Regions from separate parts of the Homo sapiens genome. Here region 2 is linked to region 1. Evidence: promoter capture Hi-C in human tissues and cell types (Jung and others, 2019). All regions are on one chromosome and are shown on one strand. Each heading gives the region's core, a stretch centred on a gene start or on the middle of the fragment in contact. The rest is flanking DNA. Distances are from core to core; before and after follow the strand shown. Region 1 holds the start of DOCK7 (dedicator of cytokinesis 7). Region 2 overlaps LOC105378768 (a long non-coding RNA gene).

What was found. The method cuts DNA at HindIII sites, captures the fragments that hold promoters and counts their contacts. A contact is called where the count stands out against the background at its distance.
Region 2: a contact is called between a fragment that was not itself captured here and the fragment with the promoter of DOCK7 in region 1, in 1 of the 25 tissues and cell types used here (IMR-90 fibroblasts).

What each region holds. Positions count from the first base shown.
Region 1 is chr1:62,685,819-62,691,933 of GRCh38, reverse strand. It overlaps DOCK7 (dedicator of cytokinesis 7), which reads left to right and starts at 3,548. Exons shown (of 50, transcript NM_001367561.1): 1 at 3,548-3,707. The coding sequence starts at 3,670. It overlaps DOCK7-DT (DOCK7 divergent transcript), which reads right to left and starts at 3,452. Exons shown (of 2, transcript NR_185999.1): 1 at 3,282-3,452. RefSeq lists an enhancer at 2,142-2,436 and a silencer at 3,446-4,195. The HindIII fragment of the contact is 7,491 bases long and covers 1-5,679 here.
Region 2 is chr1:62,426,477-62,432,591 of GRCh38, reverse strand. LOC105378768 (a long non-coding RNA gene) reads right to left here. Exons shown (of 3, transcript XR_007066146.1): 2 at 1,888-1,947; 3 at 1,002-1,083. Among named protein-coding and RNA genes, the nearest start is that of USP1, 7.5 kb to the left of the region's middle. The HindIII fragment of the contact is 6,748 bases long and covers 1-5,734 here.

The sequences.
Region 1 (6,115 bases), core at 2,299-4,798:
TGTACTGTAGCCTTAGACCCTTGACCAGACCCCTCCACAATCCTCCTTGGTGCTACATTAAAGCGGGTAGACCCAAGTTCAATAAAGGGTAGAATGCAAAACTCATAATTTTCCCACCTTCTTTTCTCTTTACTTTTTTTTTTCTGTCATATCCCTAAGTTTTCTGCTTGAGGGACTTAGTACACTGGTATGTCTAATGAAAACTGTTCTGAGGCTTTCTTACCTAAAACTCACTGTTTTGAGTAGACTCTGCCAAATTGGTCCTGGCTTCTGGCAAGTAGTTTCTTTGTATCTTTCCATCAGTGGGGAGCTTGGGCCCTGAATTCTGAATTGGGCTACTCATGCTCCCGGAGTTGCAGCCAGCCTTTCTCCTAGGTTATATAACAGGGCTAAGGACAGGGTTAAATTCCATCCAGTTTTTAACACCTCATATTTGAGAACTGGTGCTATCAAGAATTTATATGCACTCCAATAGCTTCCTTAATTTTTCCTGTCTCAGCATGTAACTTACTATTTACTTACTTTTCTCTTCTACCAGACCCTAAACTCTTTGAGGACAGAAATACTGCGCTATTTACCACTATATTTCCAGGGTCTAGTATAGTACTTAATGAATGTTAGTTAACTGAATGAAGTCCTGTATCAGGTAAGACTTTGAACTGCTAATGAAAGCAAACCTAATGAAAAACCAGCCACACCCCCAAAAAAATTCCAGCACATTTTTAGCTCATGTAACTGCAAAGTCCAAGGCTCAAGTCATGCTATATTCTAAGGAACTTGTCTTTTTCAATATTTTTGCTCTCCTCTCTGCTGTGCTTGGCTTCATTCTCAGGTAGGCCTTCTTTAGATGGAGTGCCCTGGTATACCAAATGCAATTTCTAATTCTGGTTGGGCCCGATTGTCTTGGTTTGATTCATGAGCCTATCCCTAAATCAGTTACAGAAGCCAGAGGAGTGTGCTGCTTTGCTTGGTGAGGCCCAGGTCAAAAGACCCTTGAAACTGAGGGTGGTGGAGTGAGCTCCCCAGAAGTATAGTGGATTGACACCTGTGTGTGTGTGTGTGTGTGTGTGTGTGTGTGTGTGTGTGTAGGGGGTGGTATAGGGAGCATGGATGCTAGTCAGCTGAAGCAATTCCACTGTCACTCCCATTGCTGCGTTCCATATCTTTTCCTGACATTGAAACCCTGTGGGGCAGGGATACCAGCCAACATGACTTGGTCTGTGACTGCCAGCTCTTCCCCAGAGGTAGGGGGTCACCCTTCCTGCTTAGAGTGTTCCCCAGACTCTGAATTACCCTGCTTACAGCGTGATCCTGCTTGTCCTCTTCCTGCTCTAAATGTTTCCAGTAAGCTGCAGAGTACATGCAAAGTCCTTTCAGACACTTTGGCAACTAGTGAGTCATGTATACAAAGAACTATTCAAAGCAAAATGTGGCCAGTTCTCTAAGAGAGTAGTGAAAAGATGTTTGGAGAACAGAGATAAAGGCATGCAACATCTGGCTGGGAGTATGAGAGCAGACAACCAATTCAGGGACTATCAAACACCCAGGACAAGCTTAAGTATAGGATGAATAATGACAGTAACAGTGATAATAATAACAACAGCTGACACACATCGTACTTACCATGAACCAGGCCCTGTTCTAAGAACTTTATATTAATCAATTCAATAAATCTTCACAACACCCTTTCAAGTAGATATAATTATTTTCCTCCTTTTAGAGATGAAGTTAAGTAGCTTGCCTAAGGTTACAGAGTAAGAAAGTGGCAAAATAAGTCTGGGTTCCTATCACAGAGGGTCTTAAAAGCCAGGTACAGTGATAGCCTTGACTTACAGTCTGTGAGTACCTGGTTCATCTTTCCCAATGGACTCAAACATTCTGAGAGCAGGTCTGTGTCTAGTTCACCTTCGTGTTTTTTAGAACACCTAGGTGGGCTCTATACTTAGGTAGAAGCCAAATATCTGTCCTCTTTGAATAGACTATCTTTTCCTTTAGTAAACAAGCATCTGAAAACAGTGTGTTACTGGAGGGCGCCTTGGCAAGAGCCTGTGGTACTAGCTACTCCTCCAGAGGCTGAGGCAAGAGGATTGCTTGAGCCTAGGAGTTTTAGGCTGCAGTGCCCTATGCATTCCATGCTTGAGCAACACAGGGGGATTCTGTCTAAAATAAATAAATCAATAAATAAAAGCAGTGTGTTACTGCAATGAGCATTGTTATATAAATACACAGTCTTCCACAGAAGTTACAGCACTAGACAGGAAGTTATGGATCTGACTAATTGAGGCTTTCACCTCTGACTCAGTGTGTGACTCTGGCAAGTGACCTAATGGCTCCAAGCTACAGATTTTCCAATGGTAAAAGAGAGGAAAACAGGTATCCAACATATTCCACCAGGACATACTGAGAATATAATAATAACAATAAATAAATACACATTTTAAGTTCTTGCAATACTTAAGAGGAAAGGTACTACAAGAAACCAAGATATTTTTCTTAGTGTCACCATAATTTCAGTATCAACAGATATGCATTAGGAGCCAAATATTCTAGACATTATGGGATTACAACAGAACAGATGAAAACAAATCTCTGCTAGTCTCTGTTTTATAGGCTATTATGGACAAGGTCAGTTTCAGTGGTCAACACAGAGCTTATTTAACAGAACATCAAAATGGGGGTGAACGTTAGAGCTCACCTGGATTTTATATATATATATATATATATATATATATATATATATATATATATATATATGTATGTATGAGAGACAGAGAGAGATCCAAAAGGGGTTAATAATACGGAAACAACTGTCCTCAAAGAAAAGAACCGGCTCTGGGTTTGAGTCTCAGTGGAAGAGTTTACCATCTGTGCGACCTGGGGCCAGTCACTTAGCTTTTCCAAGCCAATTTCCTTCCCTCTAAAATAGTGATAGTAACGATCTACTTCAAAGCGCTCGTGCTTGAAAAACTTTAATCCAGTGGCTGGCTAAGCACCAGAAGTCAACTATTACTATTGTTATCGCTGCAGGAGCAAGGTATTTTCTGGCTCTTTCTCTATAAGAAAAACCACTGTTTCTCCAGTTAGGCTGCATTCATGAGGCCGAAGCAGAAACCCAAGTGCTTTAAAAAGCTCGGAGACCGGTGCTGCAGAAACATGAACCCAGTCATCCAGGGCTTTGGTTAAAGCACAGCCCCCTCGGCAAAGCCCACCTTTCATTTCCTTCCCTTCCATTTCGGGAAAGCCAAGCTCCCCCTACGCGTTCGGTTATCTTATTTTCTTGCCTCGCCAGGTCGCTGGCCTGTCTCTGGCTTCTCTCCGCGACCTCTCGGTCGTGCAGGCTCCGCGGCAGCGAAGCGGCTGGGGCTGGCGCCTCGCTTCCTCAGCGCTCCATTCTTCCCCTCGGCTCCCGCCGGCCGCAGCCGCCTTCCGCAGCCGGGGTTCCCGCCGGGATTGACGCGCTGGGGGAGGAGCGGTTTCTCGTTGCGCGCCTCTAAGGAACATTACGGCAGGGCTCGTTCCTGGCTCCGGCCGCCAGCCCCAGCCTCCCAGGTCCGGAGCCCGGACTGGCGGAGGCCGCGAGGGAGGGAGCACGAGCGAGGAGGCACGCGCCCGCCGGTCCGCACCCGGCCCGCCGCAGCCGCCGCCGCCGTCGCCGTCGCCGCAGCAGCCATGGCCGAGCGCCGCGCCTTCGCCCAGAAGATCAGCAGGTAAATATCCGGCGTGGGGCGCGCCGCCGCCGCCGCCCGAGAAAGAGCCGCGGAGTCCTCCCAGGCCTGGCCTAGGAGGCGGGTGGGTGTGGCGGGGCCGGCACCGGGATCCCGCGGCCTGGCTCGCGGCGGGGCGGAAGGGGTTCGGGGTGGCTGAGGGGGTAGCGGAGGCCTCGCGCCGCCCTCGAACCCCGGCCTTCAGCCCGCGCCCGCCGCTGAGCCTCGGCAGGGAGCGGAGAGGGCCGCGGACTCCAGCGCGCCCGCCTCCTCCTGCTCCTCGGCGGCCCGGGCCTGGACTTCTGCGGAGGTTTATGGAAGGGCGGTCGGCCGCTTCCCAAATTCTTTGTGTTCCCACCCCCGGGCTCGTCGGGGGCCGCCGCGGCGTTTCGCCCCCTCCCGTCTCTCCGCCCACCCCTCTTGGCCCCTAGAGGGTGCGGGGTCCGCCCTCCTCCACCCCAACAAAAGGAGAAACGCGCGGCGGCTCGGGGCGGGTGGGAGGCCGCCCCTCCTTCACGCGTCTCTCTCTTCCTGAGAAATCTGACAGGAACCCTCTTTGCACCCTCGGGCCAGGTTCAAAGTGGACTTGTGCGTCCAGGATTGAAAACGTGTGGACAGAATGAAAAGTTGAGAGCTGCGGGCTGCACCTTCGGTGTGCAGCTGCCGAATCCCTGACGGATTGCAGGCTGAAGCTTGTTCTGAGTTCGCCTGTGAATTTAACTGTGCGCCTGTGTTTCTCAGAGCACCCGAGAAGATGGATGATAGGCAGTGTTCTTTATACACTGACATCCTTTTATATGTTAGCAGTCTTGAAGTAAAGCAAGTGATTGCAGTCTTGAAGTAAAGCAAGTGATTGAGGTGGAGGTTTCAAAGCCTTTCACCTACTTGTGGTGGTTGGTTGCCACCTTTCTCCCACCCGCCAAATAAAAATTAAATGACAGAGGACTCTAATATTTGTAGAATTTCTTTGTGGAGTATACTTATGTATGAGACAGTAGACATTTTTGTTTTAATAAAATCATATTTGTGTGAATTATGATGTCCCAAGAAAAGAAGCATTCATATTAAATTACCTTTTTTTGTTTTGGGGCAGTTGTAGTTCTGTGGCTCTGAGTCTTTTTAGTTTGCTGACATTTCTTTAAAAATTTTGGGCCGGATGCAGTGGCTCAGGCCTGTAATCCCAGCAGTTTGGGAGGCCGAGGCAGGAGGATCGCTTGAGGCCAGGAGTTCAAGACCAGCCTGGGCAACATAGCGAGTCCCCCCCACCCCATCTCTGCAAAAAAATTAGCCAGGTGTGGTGTTGCACCTGTCGTCCTAGCTGCTTTCGAGGCAGAGGCTTTTTTTTTTCTTTCTTTCCAGCGTTCTAGCACTTTTTTTTTCCTGAAGGGGCAAAATAGCAAGTGTTTAAGAGCATGGGCTCTACTCTCAGACCCCGACATGGGTTCAAATCCTGATTGGTATTTTCTAGCTTGGGACTTTGGCCAAGTTGTTGGGCCAAATTTCCGTTTCCTCGTCTGGCAAATGAGAATAATAATAGGACCCAGCTCATAGTGTTGTTGTGAACATTAAGTGGCATAATTTGTGTAATGTGCGTAGGATAGTACAGGGCCTATACTACCTGTCATCAAACACTTGTAGTAATTAGTTTCTCCCAGGGAGTTATGATGACAGGAAATTTTTTTTTTTTGTAAAATAATTAGGTCTTACTTCTGATGATGATGTCATTAAAAAATGTTATTACTGGCCGGGCGCGGTGGCTCACGCCTGTAATCCCAGCACTTTGGGAGGCCGAGGCGGGTGGATCATGAGGTCAGGAGATCGAGACCATCCTGGCTAACAAGGTGAAACCCCGTCTCTACTAAAAAAAAAAAATACAAAAAATTAGCCGGGCGCGGTGGCGGGCGCCTGTAGTCCCAGCTACTCGGGAGGCTGAGGCAGGAGAATGGCGTGAACCCGGGAAGCGGAGCTTGCAGTGAGCCGAGATTGCGCCACTGCAGTCCGCAGTCCGGCCTGGGCGACAGAGCGAGACTCCGTCTCAAAAAAAAAAAAAAAAAAAAAAAAAAAAAAAAAAAGTTATTACTTGACATGTATTCCTAGTTTTAATTTCTCTTATTAGAACCAGAAGTTTATCTCTGAAAACATCATGCTGATAAAGTAAGTGCACTTTAGAGAGTTGGATATGAAATTGTATGTCTATTAGTGGAGTTCGCCACCAGATGGGATAGGACAAACCACAAGAGAAAAAGAGAATCAGTTGTGCAAAACAACACAAAATGCAAATAAGAACAGCTTTCTAAGAAGTTATAAAATTAAGATAATGTGAATGAAGAAATGTGCACTTATTGGACAGACAGGAGGTGGATATGGTAGTGATTGGTGATTGGACATGCAAGGTGAGGCGGACTGAGGAG
Region 2 (6,115 bases), core at 1,111-3,610, 260 kb after region 1:
AGTTTTCCATCTTGCAGTATCTGAGTCTTTACCACCCACTGCCCAAATGCTTCCACTAAAAACCACATTTCTTTTAAGGTTATGTGTAGCACAAATTTATAGGAACCAAACTCTGCATCCGATAGGAATAGGTTTGTTTATAAGTAACAGAATATTTTTAAGTGTCCTTAGCTAAAATTAATATTCATGTCTTTATCATGTATACATAATGCAGAAGTAGGCAGTCTAGATTAGTATGGTGGTTCTGTGACCATCAGGGACCTAATTAATTTCTTCCATTCTCAACATGTGGCTTCTACCTTTCGGTCCTTTATAGCTGTTTAAATTCCAGCCATCATGTCTACAGTCCTATGCAGGAAAGAAAAAAGGACAGAGATGACCATGGTCCCCTCTCTTTAAGGATACTTCCTGGAAGCTGTACACACCATTCCTACTTATAGCCCATTGGCCAGAACTTAGTCATTTGACAACATTATTCTGGGTGGCTATATACCCAACTAAAAATCAGGGGTTATAATATTAAGGAAGAAGGATAGAATGGATATTAGAGGACAAATAGCATTCTCTGCTATGCCTCCCTTACCAGGTTAAAAAAAAATCCCCAGCTGGTGAAGATATCCCCAAAAGATGAAAAATGGAAAAGTACTGTACAGCTTTTGGTTCCTTGAAAAGAGAATATGCTGGGTATCTGTTTGCCCTTGTGGTAGATATGGAGATGAGCTGCCCAGATCCCCCTTCAAGGAGGGACTTGCTCCCAAGCTGCAAAGACTACCTCCAGTTGTCAGTTCCATCAGACTCTGCTTCAATCGCAGACAATGGCCTTGCCCACAGTCATGCTCTCTGCAGCCTAAACTGGGTGATTAAGCAAGGCTGGACTATAAAGGCTCAGCCATTATGGCCACCACTGGACACCTCTGATGGGCAGTATTCACTCCAGAGCTCTTAGCGAGGCTGGCCAAAGCTTTATTGGACCTGTACTGGAATTTGACTTCATTCTCTTACCAGTCCTACTTCCTCTCCCTTCCTTTCACATCTTATGCTCCAGCTTTGTCTCTCTCTGCACCTGCTCCTCAAGAAGGCTGCCTGCAAGAATTAGTACGAGGATTGGTTGGAGAAAGTAGACAACCAGATGAGGTTTGGGAGCTGAATTATAGACTACCTAGCAGGTGGTAGGTGAAGCATAGTCAGCTCCTGGCACAAGGTAATGGTCCAATCAGGATGATGTACCAGGTGGAAGAGAATGCACTTGCAGGTGTGATATATCTGGCAGTTAACATATATGGTGGAAGTTGTAGCTATAAGAATAATAGAATTGGATGGCTATTGCTAAACTCCATTGGTTACAGAAAAATAAAAAACAGCTAAGGGTAGGTAATAAGCAATTGAAGGTCTGGTGTGAAAGCCAGAGCACCTGTTCGTTGCATAAAAAACAGCTCTCATCTGCAGGGGAAGGGTGGAGAAAGCTGAGCATCAAGACTACTTTAGAGTGGTCAAACTTAAAAGATGGTTAAATGCCTAAAATAGGTCTGTTGTGTCAAAGTCAGGGTCATGGTTGAGAAAATCTAGCACCCTGACACATGGAGGGTCCATCTGGGTAGTGATCATGAAAATTTTGATTCCCCAGGCTCCTCTGAAGCCTGCAGTGTGGCCCCTCCTCCCTACTCAGAGCTATCACTTTCCTGTACTAGAAGACATTGCAGAGGCTTCTACTTGAAAGGCATGTTCTCCCTTCCGCCAGCACTCACACCTGTCATCTAGCCTTCTAGCCAGTAGATCTATAATTAGGGTTAAATCATAGCATAACCTAGTTGGGAAGGTGCTGTACCTGATGGGTAGAGGTAAATGACTGTTCCCCAAAGAAGATGTAAGACCTAGACAAGCACGTACCAACAGGAGCTTCAGAAGAGTACATGGGGCTGGATTCAGATGATGCTTAAGCAAGGGGAGCTAGAACATAAAATTGAATGGGAAAGTTATATTGAATTTGGAGTATTCTCCCAAATACAGGATTTAATATTCTGCCAAGGACCCCCAAGAATTGACGTGAACATTCACTAACTACTACAATGGCTCCTAAAAGCATGGGAAAAGAAAACGAAATGCTAGGAGTGCTAGGGCAGGCAGGTGGCTCAAAAAGGGATTAAAAGGTTGACAGAAATGGGTCTGCTGGAGTGGATATATTACGTACGCCTGGAAGGTTATGATCATTATGTTCTGAGGGAAGGCCCAGAGGACACACCATTTACCAAGGCCATTAGGGAATGCACTGGTGCAAAGGACATAAACATCACTAAAAACCTCAGTGGTGGCTCTCTGCAAGCCAGGACTGATGGTAGCAGAGGCCTCCCAGACTTTGACTCACTGATAGCAATGGAGATGATAGACCCCAAAACAATACTGGCCAACTGGCAGTGCTTAATTACTAGAAGCCAGGAGGTCGCAATTATAATGACCTACCAAGGGGACTTGACCCTCAGAGAGTTATAGAAATGGTTACTAGATGGTGGCGTCTTTAGGGGCAAAATAGATAGACAACCAACTAAGCTCTATTATTTTGTACCAGTGGGGAAAAAAAAGTTAAGGATAGATGACCAGGATGCTAAGGATAGTCACCCAATAGTCAATTCCTTAGTTTCCAGACCAGAGCATTTTTAGACCTGGAACCCATTGACTGAAGAGGCCAGGAGGAAGGACTTTGCTATACCTCAACAAGTATAAATGGTAATGGTTTCCTCAGTCCTTCCCCAAAGGGATCTTTAGTCATTTACTTGGGTAATTGTACCCTGGGGAAATGGACATACCCAAACATGCCAAGGATTGTGAGACAGAGGGTATGAATTTAACTTGTTATCCACAGACCACAAGCATCATCGTGGCCTTCTGTTATAATGGGGGCATAAAGAAGCCAGTTAATAAATGGAGTCATGGCAAGGTCCGGCTCAGAGTGAGTTTACTACTGGATCTGTGACCACAACTAATTATCATTTCCCCACTCTTCAAATGTATAATGGAGTTGTCATTTTTGGCAATTGATGCAAATGCATTAGGACTTTTGCCTATGGGGTAAAAGCTATAATGGTGGGGAAGGCCAAGTGAAAGCCTTTGAAACTGCTTCCCAGCTCCAGAGAAACATGGCACAGTCTCTTAGTCAGCTCAGTCTGCTATAACAAAATACTATATACTGGGAAATTTAGACAACAGACATTTACTTCTCATAGTATTGGAGGCTGGAGAGTCCAAGATCAAAGTCCCAGCAGATTCAGTTTCTGGTGAGAGCTCTTTCTAGCCTGCAGACAACCACCTTTTTGCTGTGTCCTCACATGGCCCTTTCTCAGTGTGAGTGTGTAGAGAGGGAATTCTGAATTCTGAATTCTTCCTCTTACTATAAGGATACTAATCCCATGGTGGGGGCTTTACCCTCATGACCTTCTGTGTTCCCTAAAATTCATGTTGAAACCTAATGCCCGGCATGATGGTATTTGGAGGTGAGGTGTTTGGGAGATGATTAAGGAATGATATCAGTTAAAGAGACCCCAGAGAGTGCCCTCACACTTTCCCCAGGCTGAGATGCAACAAGAAGACACCTATCTTTGAACCAGGAAGACTTCACCACATACAGAATCTGTCAGTGCCTCAATCTTAGACTTCCTAGCCTCTAGAACTATTAGAAATAAATTTCTGTTGTTTATAAGCCACACAGTCTATGGTATTCTGTTATAGCAGCCCAAATGGACTAAGATATAATCTAAACCTAGTTATCTCCCAGAGACCCTACCTCCAAATACTATCATACTGCGGGTTAGGGCTTCAACATATGAATTTTGGGGGGACACATAGGAAACACATACAGGAAATCAAACAATATTATATCTCAAGAGAAGATGGCAGGAATTCGTGTCACTCTTAAGATTTTAAAGGAAACAGAGGTGCTGATTCCCATCATATCTCTGTTTAATTCACCATATGGCCCGGCAAAAATAGATGGACTCTGAAGGATGACAGTAGATTACTGCAAGTACAACCCATTAGTAGGCCTGATCGCAGCTGTCATGACAGATGTGGTGTATTTGCTAGAGTTGATTAATACATCCTCAGATATTTGGTATGCACCACTGATTTTAGTGAATGCATTCTTTTCTATTCCAATCGTAAGAAAGGATCAGAAACAGTGGCATTCCATGAAACAGACAAAAGTGCACATTGGCTGGATGTGGTTGCTCATGCCTGTAATCCCAGCATTTTGGGAGGCCAAGGCAGGAGAATTGCTTGAAGCCAGGAGTTCAAGACCAGTGTGGGCAACAGAGTGAGATCCTATCTTTACGTTAAAAAAAAAATTAATTAGCTGGACGTAGTGGTGAGCATCTCCCAGCTACTCAGGAGGCTGAAGTGGTAGGATCGCTTGAGTCCAGGAATTTGAGGCTACAGTCAGCTACAATTGTACCACTGCACTCCAGCCTGGGTGACAAAGCTAGACCCTATTTCTTTTTATTTATTTATTTTTTTGAGACGGAGTCTCACTCTGTCGCCCAGGCTGGAGTGCAGTGGCGCAATCTCGGCTCACTGCAAGCTCCGCCTCCCGGGTTCACACCATTCTTCTGCCTCAGCCTCCCAAGTAGCTGGGACTACAGGTGCCTGCCACCACACCTGGCTAATTTTTTGTATTTTTAGTAGAGATGAGGTTTCACCATGTTAGCCAGGATGGTCTCGATCTCCTGACCTTGTGATCTGCCCGTCTAGGCTGCCCAAAGTCTATTTCTTTTTTATTAAAAAAAAGTACACATTTACGGTTTGGTTCCAGGGCTATATTAACAGTATTCCTGCCCTCTATCATAAAATAGCCTGAAAAGATCTGGACCTTCTGGACATCCTGCATCACATTGATCTACTACATCAATTACGTCCTCTTGATTGTGCAGGATGAGCAAATTATAAGTTTCAGGAGAATTAAAGAACTGAAAGTGTACATGATTGGTGGAGATGCAAAGGAGTGTACAAAAGAAAGCTAAATCCTCATCTTCTGTATTGGGAAATCGACAAAATGGTAACTAAAAAATCAAGAAGAAGAAATATAAACATAGTTGTTTTGTTTTGTTTTGTTTTGTTTTGTTTTGTTTTGTTTAAGACAGGGTCTCTGTCGCCCATCCTGGAGTGCAGTGGTACAATCACGGCTTACTGCAGCCTCAACCTCCGATGCTCAAATGATCCTCCCACCACAGCCTTCTGCATAGCTGGAACTACAGGCCCACTCCACTATACCCGGCTAATTTTTTGGTGTCGTTTTTGTAAAGACAGTGTTTCACTGTGTTGCCCAGGCTGTTCTCGAACTCCTGAGCTTAAGTGATCCACCCACCCCAGCCACCCAAAGTGCTGGGATTATGGGTGTGAGCCACCATGCCTGGCCTAAACATGTTATTTAGACATGTGAAGGTAAATACCAAAGAATCAGTCAAAAGTTGAAAATGGTTGCCTTGGAGGATAGGAAGATATGTTGAAACCTTTAACTCATGTACATGTATAACTTTGAATTTTCTTTTTTTTTAGAGACAGGGTCTTGCTATGCTGCCCAGTTTGGTCTTGAACTCCTGGCCTCAAGGGATCCTCCTGCCTCAGCCTCCTAAAGTGCTAGGATTATAGGCATGAGCCACCACACTTGGCCTATATATAACTTGGAAGAAGGCAAAAACCTTTTTTTAAAAAAAGCACTGTAAATGAATTGTTTTCTTATTTCATCCTTTGGGAAAGGTCAGAGCAAATGGGCACAATAGGAGGAGGAGAATATTTTGGATTAGAGTGACGATTCTTCTGACATCGTAGTTGTAAGTTAAAGAAAGGCTCAGTGTGTGACCCATTGGCCTTCATCCAGCATTTTTAGTAAAGGTAACCAACCTCGAAACAACTGGTGAAATCACTATTCAGTAATTAAATTTAAACAAAAGATTAATCCACAAACTAAAATCTGTTTAAAAGGTAAAAATTCAGCTTTTCTGGCTGCTTTAGAGGAAAAAGGAGAACATAAAAATAAAAAGCTAAAATCTACTTGGCTTCAGAATTTTCAATTCTTTTTCAGTTTCTAGCCCCAGGGTCAGGTGGGAGGACCTCTCATGCCTATGAAAGG